Regions from separate parts of the Homo sapiens genome. Here region 2 is linked to region 1. Evidence: promoter capture Hi-C in 16 types of primary human blood cells and fetal thymus (Javierre and others, 2016). All regions are on one chromosome and are shown on one strand. Each heading gives the region's core, a stretch centred on a gene start or on the middle of the fragment in contact. The rest is flanking DNA. Distances are from core to core; before and after follow the strand shown. Region 1 holds the start of PIGN (phosphatidylinositol glycan anchor biosynthesis class N). Region 2 has its middle 240 kb from the start of BCL2.

Evidence for each region. Contacts are between HindIII fragments. The CHiCAGO score rates a contact against its expected background, and 5 or more counts as called.
Region 2: a contact is called between a fragment that was not itself captured here and the fragment with the promoter of PIGN in region 1, in 1 of 17 cell types (fetal thymus). The highest score is 5.3, in fetal thymus.

The regions. Positions count from the first base shown.
Region 1 is chr18:62,182,526-62,188,464 of GRCh38, forward strand. PIGN (phosphatidylinositol glycan anchor biosynthesis class N) reads right to left here and starts at 4,531. Exons shown (of 31, transcript NM_176787.5): 1 at 4,319-4,531. It overlaps RELCH (RAB11 binding and LisH domain, coiled-coil and HEAT repeat containing), which reads left to right and starts at 4,730. Exons shown (of 29, transcript NM_001346231.2): 1 at 4,730-5,506. The coding sequence starts at 4,981. RefSeq lists silencers at 4,033-4,245, 5,196-5,415 and an enhancer at 4,836-5,045. The HindIII fragment of the contact is 4,021 bases long and covers 2,505-5,939 here.
Region 2 is chr18:63,073,377-63,079,470 of GRCh38, forward strand. No RefSeq gene overlaps it. Among named protein-coding and RNA genes, the nearest start is that of BCL2, 240 kb to the right of the region's middle. RefSeq lists an enhancer at 353-402. The HindIII fragment of the contact is 1,896 bases long and covers 2,044-3,939 here.

The sequences.
Region 1 (5,939 bases), core at 3,281-5,780:
GAATCTGTTCATTTGTCTTAATCTCCATTGACACCTCTATAATTTAAGATGTATACCATCTCTTATGCGAACTACTGCAATGCAGGAATAGGTCACCCCTATATACTCTAACCCTTCTCTGATCCATTTCTTGCCATGTAGCCAGAGTATTACTTGCTTTTCTTTTTTCAAAAGAAAATCTGAACATCTTACCCCTTGTATAAAACTCTCCAGTGCCTTCTGTGAAGCATTCACTGTCTTTAAAGTCAAAAGACACGTTTGCAACAACACGGATGTTCCTGAAGCCTGGTATGCTAAGTGAAATAAGCCAGGTGCAGAAACACAAATACTGCATGATTTCACTCCTATGTGGAACTTAAGAAAGTTGACCCCACTGAATTAGAAGCAGAATGGTGGTAACCAGAGGCTGGGGTAGTTCCACAGCGGGGGGCAATTGTAGAGATACTGATCAAAGCATTCATATTAGAGTTAGATAGAAGGAATAAGTTCAAGAGCTCTGTTGTACAGCATGGTGACTCTAGTTAATGATGATATATTGTATTCTTGAAAACTGCTAAAAGGGTAGATGTTCAAATTTCTCATCACAAAAATGATAACTATGTGTAAGGTAATGCATTTGTTACTTAGCTAGATTTGAGCATTTCACAATGTATATAAACTGAAGAACATCATGTACACAATGAATACATAAAATCGTATATTAAAAAATAAATTTAAAAATGAAGTCACAGCTGGAAAAAAAAAACTCTCCAGTGCCTTTTCACCTACTAATCTAGACTAAAATCCTTAATGTGACTAACAAGGTCTTTTATAGACTAGCCTCTGCCTTCTTTTCTAAACCTGTCTCATAGCACTCCCCTTTACTTTGTAACATCTCACATCACTGGCCCCTTCTTTTATTCAAGTATCCCACTGCTATAAGACCTTTGTAGGCTCAATTCCTCTCTGCAGAATGTACTTGCAACCTATCTTCCACTCTCTCCTAACATTCCATTTCAAGCATCACTTCCTCAGGGACTATGCAGGTGAAGTCAGAAACGAAAACTTTTACTTCAGTTTGTAATTACATAGCTTTGTCTACGACTATTTGAATTAATGTCTGTCTCTGTCACTTCACCACAATTCCATGACAGCAGGACGGGGCATCTCCAACACCCATCAGAGTCTTATGCACTTAGTAAGGACTCAAATGTTTGCTGAATAAATTATTTAGAATTATCATTTCAAGGGTAAATGCAATATGCACTACAGCCACTAGAGGATGCCCTGCTTCTGTTTTTGTTCCTCCAGAACAAGATGTGAAGACTGAAAATACTTTAAAAAAAAAAAAACTAAACCTTTTATGATAAAGTAATTTACTATTAATGTAAATAAAATTGCAGTTATTACAAAATATCAGCATTCACTAACTACTTATTTTAATTAGTTTAATTGCTTAATACTAAATATTACTTAATACTTCTCTTTAAAGAAAATCACAATTTATTCAGATTTATTGAAAAAGAAATACCTCCAAAACAAACACATAACTATTAAAATTTTAAAAAGATATATGCATGTACCAATACAAGTTATCTAGTTTATCTGTGGATGTTTACCACACACTGAAAAACAATAAAACATGAGGTATTACTAAAACCTCAAGTCAACCAAAACTTGCATTCAGAATATTACTTGTGGTTCTTTTAAGACTATTAAAACCTAAAATAATTTTTTAAATACTAAAATGATTGACGTGCTTTGAAAAAAGGCATCTTTTACATCTTCATTGCTAAGGCACAAGCTTTAATAACTATCATTAGTCAGATGAAACATTAGTTGTAAGGGCCTAGATTAATGAAAATCTTACTAAGTAGAAAGGAAATTTCCCAACACTATTAATAATACATTATTATAAGTAGTGATCGGTAATTTTTAATATTCCAGTGTGTGTTACTTATACATTATTCACGAATAACCAAACCTCTGTGTATTGTGGAAAAGAAAAGTACATACTGGGAAGACTGGGCAGTTGATTTCTAATGGGCTTACAAGATCAAACACACAAGTTCATGGTTATAGGATAGGAGGCAGAAATAGAAGCAGAAAACCACAGATTTGTATGGGAAGAATTCCTCTACATGCAAGTTCTTACAACTCTGAGGAAACATTTTAAATCTATTTTCAACTTGTGTTTTAGAACTGAGACCCCAAATTAAAGATACTCCCTTCAGCCCTACTGACTTAATTGCTTTTTCAGGCTTGCACTGCCAAAACGATTGATATTAGTTTTATTTTTAAACACTTGTCAAATGTTCTCAACACATACTAATATTTCAATAATTAATAAGTGACCACAGTAATAGTTATTGTGTAGCAGGTACCAGGCACTGGGACAAGAACATTCTCAATTCTGTGTACTTTCCTTATCCCCTTTGATAGACGAATGCAAGTGAGGCTGAGAAGTTAGGTAACTTTTTCAAGGTCTCACAATAAATAATGAGTAGAATTGGGATCTGAACTTAAGCTTTTCTATCTTATAAGCATAATCCTCTTCAGGAATCCTAAATGCAGGAGATTTCTCAATTTCCCAATCATGGAGATGGAAATATTGTATATAAACAATCCATTTCTAATCATGCCCTTCCCATGCCATTCACTAATCCTCCATTCCTGGATTCCAGAAATTGGTTCCATTTTAATCTCTCTGGAAAATCCAACTAAAATACGGATCAGCAATCCCTTTTGCTAAGAAATCTCTAACAGGATACAGTATTTGCCATTTCAATTCTATTTGGGGGGATTTTTTTCCCCATGTTTTACTTTTAATATATGGCACAGAAAACTATTTATCATTAAAACATTGGGAACTAATGTCCTATAAAAAAATAGTTTAAATTCTTGGTACTTTTTTTTTAAACTTCTAGCAAAAATAAAATTTTAAAAACCCAAATCCCCATTCAAATGAAAATTTTAGTTTATTGAGCCTGGGTATATTGAAATTAAAGCCTACTCTTAACTGTTGGCATACTTTTACATGTAAACCAATAACCTGACCTAAGGTTATGTAAGAATCGTCTATTTTAATTTTTCCATGGAGCTAACGGGAGATACTTTACTGTGGAATGTTTACTACACACTGAATGTAATATGTCACTTACCTGTACACTAAGAAAGGAAATCTAAAGCCTGGAAAAGTGGTCATTTGTGTGTGAAAAAAATAGGAGCCATAAGAAATAGCAGTCTAATTGTATTGACTGGAAATTCCTTTACCTTTTCAGATCATAATCAAGGAATGACATAAAAGATAAACGTTGATCTTCTAAACTTAGGATATGTACTTTATATGCTAACATTTCATCAAAAAAATCAAAACTCTCTGAAGCATTCAACTTTTAAAATAGTTCTAAGTTCCAAAACCTTGATTCTAGCCTGCATGAACGAGTCAGAAATGTTGCAGGAGACAGTGGATAAAGAATCGTTTGGGACATAAGAGAAATGATGTTAATTCCTTTGACTCCTTATTAGCGGAATTGATTTTTTTTTTTTTTTTTTTTTTTTTTTGAGACGGAGTCTCGTTCTGTCGCCCAGGCTGGAGTGCAGTGGCGCGACCTCGGCTCACTGCAATCTTCGCCTCCGGGGTTCAAGCGATTCTCCTGCCTCAGCCTCCTGAGTAGCTGGGATTGCAGGCTTGCGCCACCACGCCCAACTAATTTTTGTGTTTTTAGTAGAGAAGGGGTTTCACCATGTTGGTCAGGCTGGTCTCGAACTCCCGACCTCGTGATCCGCCCGGCTCGGCCTCCCAAAGTGCTGGGATTACAGGCGTGAGCCACCGCGCCCGGCGTGGAGCTGATTTTATAACAACCACTCTTGGCTTAAGTTTACTTATCTGTCTACTGGTGAGACAGCATTAGATATTCTGAAGGGTCCCTGTTGTGTAAATCGTGTATTAAATCCTAAGCGTTTATTGAGTACCTAACAATTTGTTTTCCAACTCGACGATGTTCCCAGATCCAGGCAAATGCCAACCTCAGCGTTCCCTTTTCCGTTTAGTCTCTCCAGCCCCCGTCCCCACCCACAGGCAGGACCACCTCCGGGGCTGAGAAGTCGTGCTGTCGCTAGGCCTCCCGAGTGTGCAAGCATGTGGCAGAGAAGGGAAAAGAAAGGAAGTCACATTCCGACTACAGGCCTGGGCACTTGCTATCCATGGGGACAAAATGTCACCACTGGCAGCAAATAGCGAGAAAAAGTGCAGCGCAGTAGGGAAACAGCGCGTCCGCGGGCGCGACACCACAGTTTGGGCGCCGACACCCTCCGCGCACTGGTCCCTGAACTTTACCTGGAGCTTATCCCGGTCAGGCCTGATCTCGAAAACGAGGGCTCCTCAGCGCGAAGGCAGGACCCAGCTCCATTAAAGCTCTCGGGCAGTGGTCCCCTCTACCCACTGAAGCGATAGCCGGGAGGGTATTCCTAAGCCACCACTACAACCACCCCTCAATTCCGGAACGCCCCCAATACCTGCCCGGCCGCTGCTGCTATCGCGATAATTCTCGGGCCAGTCTCCCGTCAGTCCGCTCCACGCCTTCCTTCTCTGACCAATCATGGAGGAGTCGTGGGTGGAGTTTTGCTTTTGAGCGGAGAGCGGGGCCTTCAATCTTTGCTATCTGGCGCTGGGAATGGGCGGAGCTGAAGTGGGCTGGGGCGGGGCTGGGGCGGGGCTAGATCGGGGAGAGGGGCAGGGGCACGCTCCAGTTCTCGCGAGACTGGAGACCAGGAAGACGCCTGCAGAGCCGGGCTGCTGGTGCAGCAGAGGCTGAGGCATCAGGTGCAGCTGCATCCGGATCTCCTGCCTTGGAGCGTACTCCTTGTCTCTAAGTCGGGAGGCAGGACGTGGTCAGGCCGGGGCTGTGGAGGTGCGCTGTGTCCCCTGAGGCCTAGAGGATTCGGGCTGCGGCCCGTCGGAACCAGTCAGGGAGGCGCCCACACTCCTGACAGGATAAGATGGCGGCGATGGCGCCTGGAGGTAGTGGCAGTGGTGGCGGCGTGAATCCATTTCTCAGTGATTCGGATGAGGACGATGACGAGGTAGCTGCAACAGAGGAACGGCGGGCAGTACTTCGGCTGGGCGCCGGAAGTGGCCTAGATCCTGGCTCTGCGGGCTCGCTGTCGCCACAGGATCCCGTGGCCTTAGGAAGCAGTGCGCGGCCAGGGCTCCCTGGGGAGGCGTCGGCGGCTGCAGTGGCCCTGGGGGGCACCGGGGAGACCCCGGCCCGATTATCAATTGATGCGATCGCTGCTCAGCTGTTGCGCGATCAATACTTGCTGACCGCCCTGGAGCTGCATACCGAGCTGTTAGAGAGTGGCCGGGAGCTGCCTCGGCTGCGCGACTACTTCTCCAATCCAGGCAACTTCGAGAGGCAAAGTGGAACCCCGCCGGGGATGGGGGCGCCAGGGGTCCCTGGAGCAGCCGGCGTTGGGGGCGCTGGAGGTCGGGAACCGAGTACAGCGTCGGGCGGGGGACAGCTCAGTAAGTGGACGCAGCCTGTCACACTCCGGCAGGGTATTTGGGATTGTACGGAGTTACTGTAGGGGAGAGGGGGTATTTCTGCGTGGGTCCCGATAGGGACATTTTAAGGAACGAGAGTATTGGGGTGGGGGCGCTCTTTTGCGGTGGAAGCAAGAGGATCAGGCAATGACTGTTCTCTCTGCCTGCTTCCAACCCTTGGCTGGTGTTGCACTTGGCTCCTGGCTCCCCTACTGGTGTCAGTATCTATAAAATATCAAGAGTTTCTAGTTCACTGGCTATTACGGGACTCCAGAAGGTTCCCTTTTATACTAGTTTATTGCTTTAAGCATTTTCCTTTTTCTCCAGTTACCTGAATCACACTACCAGGAAATAGTGTTACCTGAATTGCCTGCAGTAGTTCTTTGAGTCTGAGCCAGGAGAGAAAGAATAGGAC
Region 2 (6,094 bases), core at 1,742-4,241, 890 kb after region 1:
CGTGAGCCACCGCGCCCGGCCGTCAGTAATATATTAAGAGATGTCATGAGTCTATAAATGTAGCAATTGCACATGGCTGGCATAGAAATCTCAACTTCAATATGTGATGTTCAAAGTCCAATTTAAAGGGATTTTAATAATTAGCCATAACTAATAACTAAGGTAAGGTTTGTTGTATCTTGAATCTTAAATGGTTGCCATGTGTCTGTTTATTAAAAATAGAGTTTCCTTTTTTTCTTTCTTCATTCACCTTAAGTAAAAGTCTATTATAGCAAAAATGCAACAGTGGCATCCTGTGGCTTGGCCTGTGAATGACAGGTGCGTGTCACAGTTGTGATCTTGGAGGCTTGGTGTCATGGCTACACAGAGGTACAGGATCATTGTGAAGAACATGGCATGTTAGAAGGAAAAGCTCCATTACTTTATTTAAGACGTAAAATTATTATAAATGACTCATTATGATCTTTTATCTTTATTTCATGGGAGTAAATTGCATGCATAATTAAAAATTGAGTTGAGAATAAAGCCACAGAAATGTACTTGTTTTTTCAAAAGCTTATTTTTCCGGACTCTATGATGAAGTTTCCCTCTGTCATTTTTACACATAGAATATACCATTATTTCCTCTCATGTAATTCTTCTGTAAGTGTAGGAAATGGAGTGAAAGAATCCATATTAAACCATTAATAACTGTAAATACTTTATCTCTCCACCCCCCCAGAAATAAATACAACTAAATCTCGGAAGCCTTTTGATTGTGATGCTTGGCTGCTGAGCCCTCTACGCTGGAAAGGCAGCACTATCATATTTAGCAGTGCGTGCTTCCAGCTTCAAACTTTAAAAAATAGTTTAAAAACATCTTCAGGGGCCGGGCGCGGTGGCTCACACCTGTAATCCCAGCACTTTGGGAGGCCGAGGTGGGCGGATCACGAGGTCAGGAGATCGAGACCATCCTGGCTAACATGGTGAAACCCCGTCTCTACTAAAAATACAAAAAATTAGCCGGGCGTGGTGGCGGGCGCCTGTAGTCCCAGCTACTCGGGAGGCTGAGGCAGGAGAATGGCGTGAACCCGGGAGGCGGAGCTTGCAGTGAGCGGAGATCGCGCCACTGCATTCCAGCCTGGGCGACAGAGCGAGACTCCGTCTCAAAAAAAAAAAAAAAAAAAAAAAAAAAAAAAAAAACTTCATAAACAACATACAGTTATACTTTTTCTTATTTAAAATGTTTACATAAGTAGAATTATGATATTCACATTCCATGAAGTTTTGCACTGAAGATGTGGTTGAGGTCTCACGTACGCTTATCTTGTGTGAAGGAATGTATGGAATATGAATGCCATAATTTTACTTATGTAAATTGTAAAAATAAGAACAAATATATATAATAAAGACCTTTGGATTTCTGCTTCTGAGGACTTCCTGTTCTCCTTCCCTCCACTTTCCTATGGGCGTGCTTCTGTTCTTTATTTATCCGAGTTTTCTCCATTAAAGATAAATTCTCTGATAAGATAAATACAGTATATATCTTTATTAATTCCTTTGTTATAGATCCTGCAAATACCTTCTCGAGGCCTGTTTTTTCCTCTCTAACGTTGATGGGGTATGTTTTGTTATAAAGATGTTTTCTGTTCTGCAGGGTTGCGTGTCAGTTACAGTTGTCATTTGTAAGCAGTAGAATCCGGTCTGACCAGTTTAAGCAGAAAAGAACTTAGGAGAGACAGAAGGGAGTTCACACAACGTTTGGGACAGATGGGAAAAGAGGCCTGAGACAATGAAAGGGACACTCCCAGAACCAACTGACCCTTTCCGGAATCTGCTGCCCACCCCGGGACCACACCGCCTTTGCCCAGAATGCGCCACTGAAATGACAGCGGCTCCCGGAGACGCGCAGCCAGCCAGCTCCCTCCCGCGGCCCGAGGCCCCCGTGTCTGATTGGCAGGCCTGGTCACGTGCCCGCATTTTGGCTGGGAAAGAGTCAGGGAAGGCACCGATTCAGATTCTCCCTTGGGGAAACAACTAAAATGCACGCAAGGTGGCCTAAAAAGCTTGGCAGATTCACTTTGGGCCATAAAGATATTCTTCAAACTTAAAAATAAAAAAATAAAAATAAAAGAAACTAAACTAAAAAATATCTTCATGAACAACATACAGTTATGCTTTGTCTTATTTAAAAATTTTCCATACATAGAATTATGATATTCACATTCGATGAAATTTTGCATTCAAGATGTGGTTGAGGTCTCACGTCTCAGTAGTGTTTAGTTGCGATTTTTCGTGCTGAGGTCTTTAATTCTTCTGGAATTAATTTTTGTATAATTAGTGTAGGAGTCTTTTATATGAAAAGCCAATGCTTCCATCATCAATGATGGCACAAGCTCATCTTTCCCTGCTGATCTCTAGTGCCACCGCTATCATATTCCACATCCCACGTAGCCCCTACATGTGAATCCTGCATGAACATGGATTTGCACCAGGCTCTCTATTCTGTCCGCTGCCTCTTCCTCTGCTCAGACAACTATATTTTAATTTCTGTGACTGTCTAGAATGTTTCAGAATCCGCAGGCCAACTGCTCCTGCCCACCCATTGTTCTTATTTTTCGAAATTATCTTGGCAATGATAATTCACTTTTCCATATGAATTTTAGAATCACGTTACAAATGAACAGAAAAGTTCTGCTGAGATTTTATTTGGAATTTACTTAAATTTATAGATAATTTGGGCAGAATTGACATGTTTATGCTTTTGAGACCTCTTACCCATTATTCAGATCTTCTTTTATATCCTTTAATAAAACTATAATTTTTTCCCATAAAGCTCTTAAAAATGGTACGTAATGTATATTCTTTAGGTCCTTTATAGTTTTGCTGCTATTGTGAGCTGGCTTTTTTTTTTTCCAATTTTTTCCCATTTGTTATTGTTCACATTCAAAAGTTATTGAATTTTGCATGTTGATCTTGTAATCAGTAGCCTTGCTGAATCCTTTTTTAGTTCTAAAAGATTTTCTGTTGATATCTATGCATTTTCTTTGTTCTTTCTTTCTTATTTTATTTTATTTATTTATTTTTTTGAGACAGAGTTTTGCTCTTGTTGCTCAGGCTGGAGTGCAATGGTTCGATCTTGGCTCACTGCAACCTCTGCCTCCCAGTTCAAGTGATTCTCCTGCCTCAGCCTCCTGAGTAGCTGGGGTTACAGACACGTGCCACCACACCTGGCTAATTTTTTTGTATTTTTAGTAGAGATGGGGTTTCACCATGTTGGTCAGGCTGGTCTCAAACTCCCGACCTCAGGTGATCCACCTGCCTCGCCCTCTCAAAATGCTGGGATTACAGTCATAAGTCTCCGTGCGCCACCCATCTATGCATTTTCTATGCCTAAAAATAATAAATTTTCACTTCCTTTCCAAACCTTATGCATTTTATTTATTTGTTGCTTACTGCATTCGCTAGTATTTTCTGTGTAAAGTTGACTGGGGTGGTGATGGCTGCCCTGCTTGCCTTTTCTTGGTTTTAATAGGGATAATCCAGAAAGATGTGATATGATTGCTTTAGGTTTTTGATAAAAACCCTTCATCAAATTAAGGAAGTTCTCTTCCATTTCTAGCTTCCTAAGAGTTTTTCTTTTAGATAAGAGAAGGTGTTGAATTTATAGAATAAAATGTGTCATTTTATTTCTTTTTGATCTATAAATGTTGTAAAGTTCTCCTGATGGATATTTCTGACATTCTTACCTTCCTGGGAAACATCAAAATTAGTTGTGATCGTTAAAAAAAAAATACTCTGGTTGGATTCCATTTGCTAATATTTATTCAGGAATTTTAATCTACATTATAAGTGAGATAACCTATAGTTTCTGTCTCTTGTACTGTCCTTGTTTCATTTTGGTGTTAATTCTACACTATCTAAACTCAGTGGCCTACTGTCCTTTTCTGTTGTCTGGGAAGCTTATATAAGATAGCAATGACCTTTTCCTTAAAGGTTTGATGAAATTCACTGCTGAAATCAGCTAAGACTAGTGTCTTTTTGGGGAGGTGGCTTGAGGGCAGGTATATTTGATTGTCAAATCAATTTCTTTAATGCTAATTGTTTTATTCAGTTTTTCTATTTTAAAATTCAGCCAATTTCAGAATAGACATAAAATTGTGCCACAGATTCCCTTATGATTTTGTTTCTGCTGCATATGTGGTTACATTATATTTTCTATTCCTAATGTTTATTTGTTCATTTTTCTTTATTTATCAGCCTTAATGGGGATTTATTTTATTAGCATTATTTTTCTTTTCTAAGACTCATTCTGTCATTTCTATTTTACTTTTGTTTCCTTTTCTTATTTTTTTGTTTTTATCTTTAATATTTCTTTCCATCACATTTTTTTTGCCTAAACTCGTTGTTCTTTTTCTATCTTCTTGAATTGACATGAGTTCATTTATTTCATCTTTCTTATGGTTCTAAAAATATTTGTAGTGCTATAAATATTTCCCTTAACTATTGCTGTACCCTAAGTCTTGGTATTTTTCTGTGCTTTCATTAATAATCAGTTTTAAAATACTGTATTATTTTTAACAGCTTCATTGAGATATATTTCACACCCTATACAACTCATCCATTTAAAGTGTATAACTCAATGGCTTCTAATATATTCACAGAGTTGTTGATATGGTTTGGCTGTCCCTACTCATATCTCATCTTGAATTGTAGCTCCCATAATTCTCACGTATTGTGGGAGGGACCCAGTAGGAGATAACTGAATCATAGGGGCAGTTTTCCCCATACTGTTCTTGTGGTAGTGAATAAGTTTCATGAGATCAGATGGTTTATAACCATCTTTTCGCTTGGCTTTCATTCTGTTTGCCTGCCACCATGTAAGATATGGCTTTGCTCCTCCTTACCTTCCGCCATGATTGTGAGGTCCCCCCAGCTATGTTGAATTTTGAGTCAATTAAACCTCTTTTTTTAAATAAGTTACCCCATCTCAGGTATGTCTTTATCAGCAGTGTGAAAACGGACTAATACAGTTGTACAACCTATCATCACAATCAACTTTACTTACTCAGTTATCAGTTGATGCATACTTGGGTAGTTTCCAGTTTGGGCTATTATAAATAATGCTGCTATGAACATTTGTGTGCAAGTTTTTGTGGACATGTGATTCATTTGGCGTGAGTATATATGAGGAGTAGAATTGCTAGGTCATTTGGTAACTTTATGTTTAAGCTTTTGAGGAACTGAAGACTGTTTCCGAATGACTGTACCATGTCAGTGTAAGAGGGTTCTAATTTTTCAACATCCTCACCAATGCTTGCTATATTTGTCTTTTTTACTATAATCATCTTAGTGGCTGTGAAATGATATTTCGTTGTGGTTTGATTTGCATTTCCCTGATGGATATTTAAGGGTACTCCGTGATACTGGGTTGATCATTCTATTTCCAGGTGACTTCACTTCTAGGTATTTTTTCATTTATGTTTCCTAAAAAATTAATTTTTAAAGAGAAAAATCATCATAGGATACTCAAATTTCCATTTTAAATTTAAGATCACAGGGTTTTATTCTTTGGTTTGTATTTGGATCTCTTTTTCTCTCACATTGAAAATCTGGTTTCTAATGACATTAGCATAATTACATATTTGTTTCATTCTACAAAATACATATAATAGTTTCACAAGAACAAAACCAATATTTAAAAATTTTGTTCTATTCTTTTTGTCCTTATTGTATGCCAAACTGGATGTACAATTAGATTACTGCAATGCACCAAATTGGTGGTTCTTAACAGGAAACAGCTGCAATCCTAAGAATCTTTGAGAAGCGTCCATCAGCTGTCTAAGCATGCAGCAATGAAGCAGGTGGTTCTCAAGTATTCACTGGGCATATCAGGTCTGCCCCAACACCTGGTTACATCCTTATTTGGAGACTGATAGCCTCAACTCTTCCCCTACCAATCAGATTTCATGGGACTGCAAACTTTAACACAGAGTAATACAGAGAAGGGGATGCTGGGAAATGCAGTTTCAGGCTTCTACCTTACACAATTCAGAGAAGACTGTAGGAGGAAGTGGTGATGATGCCAAGCTGATACAGACACAGACACATCCAT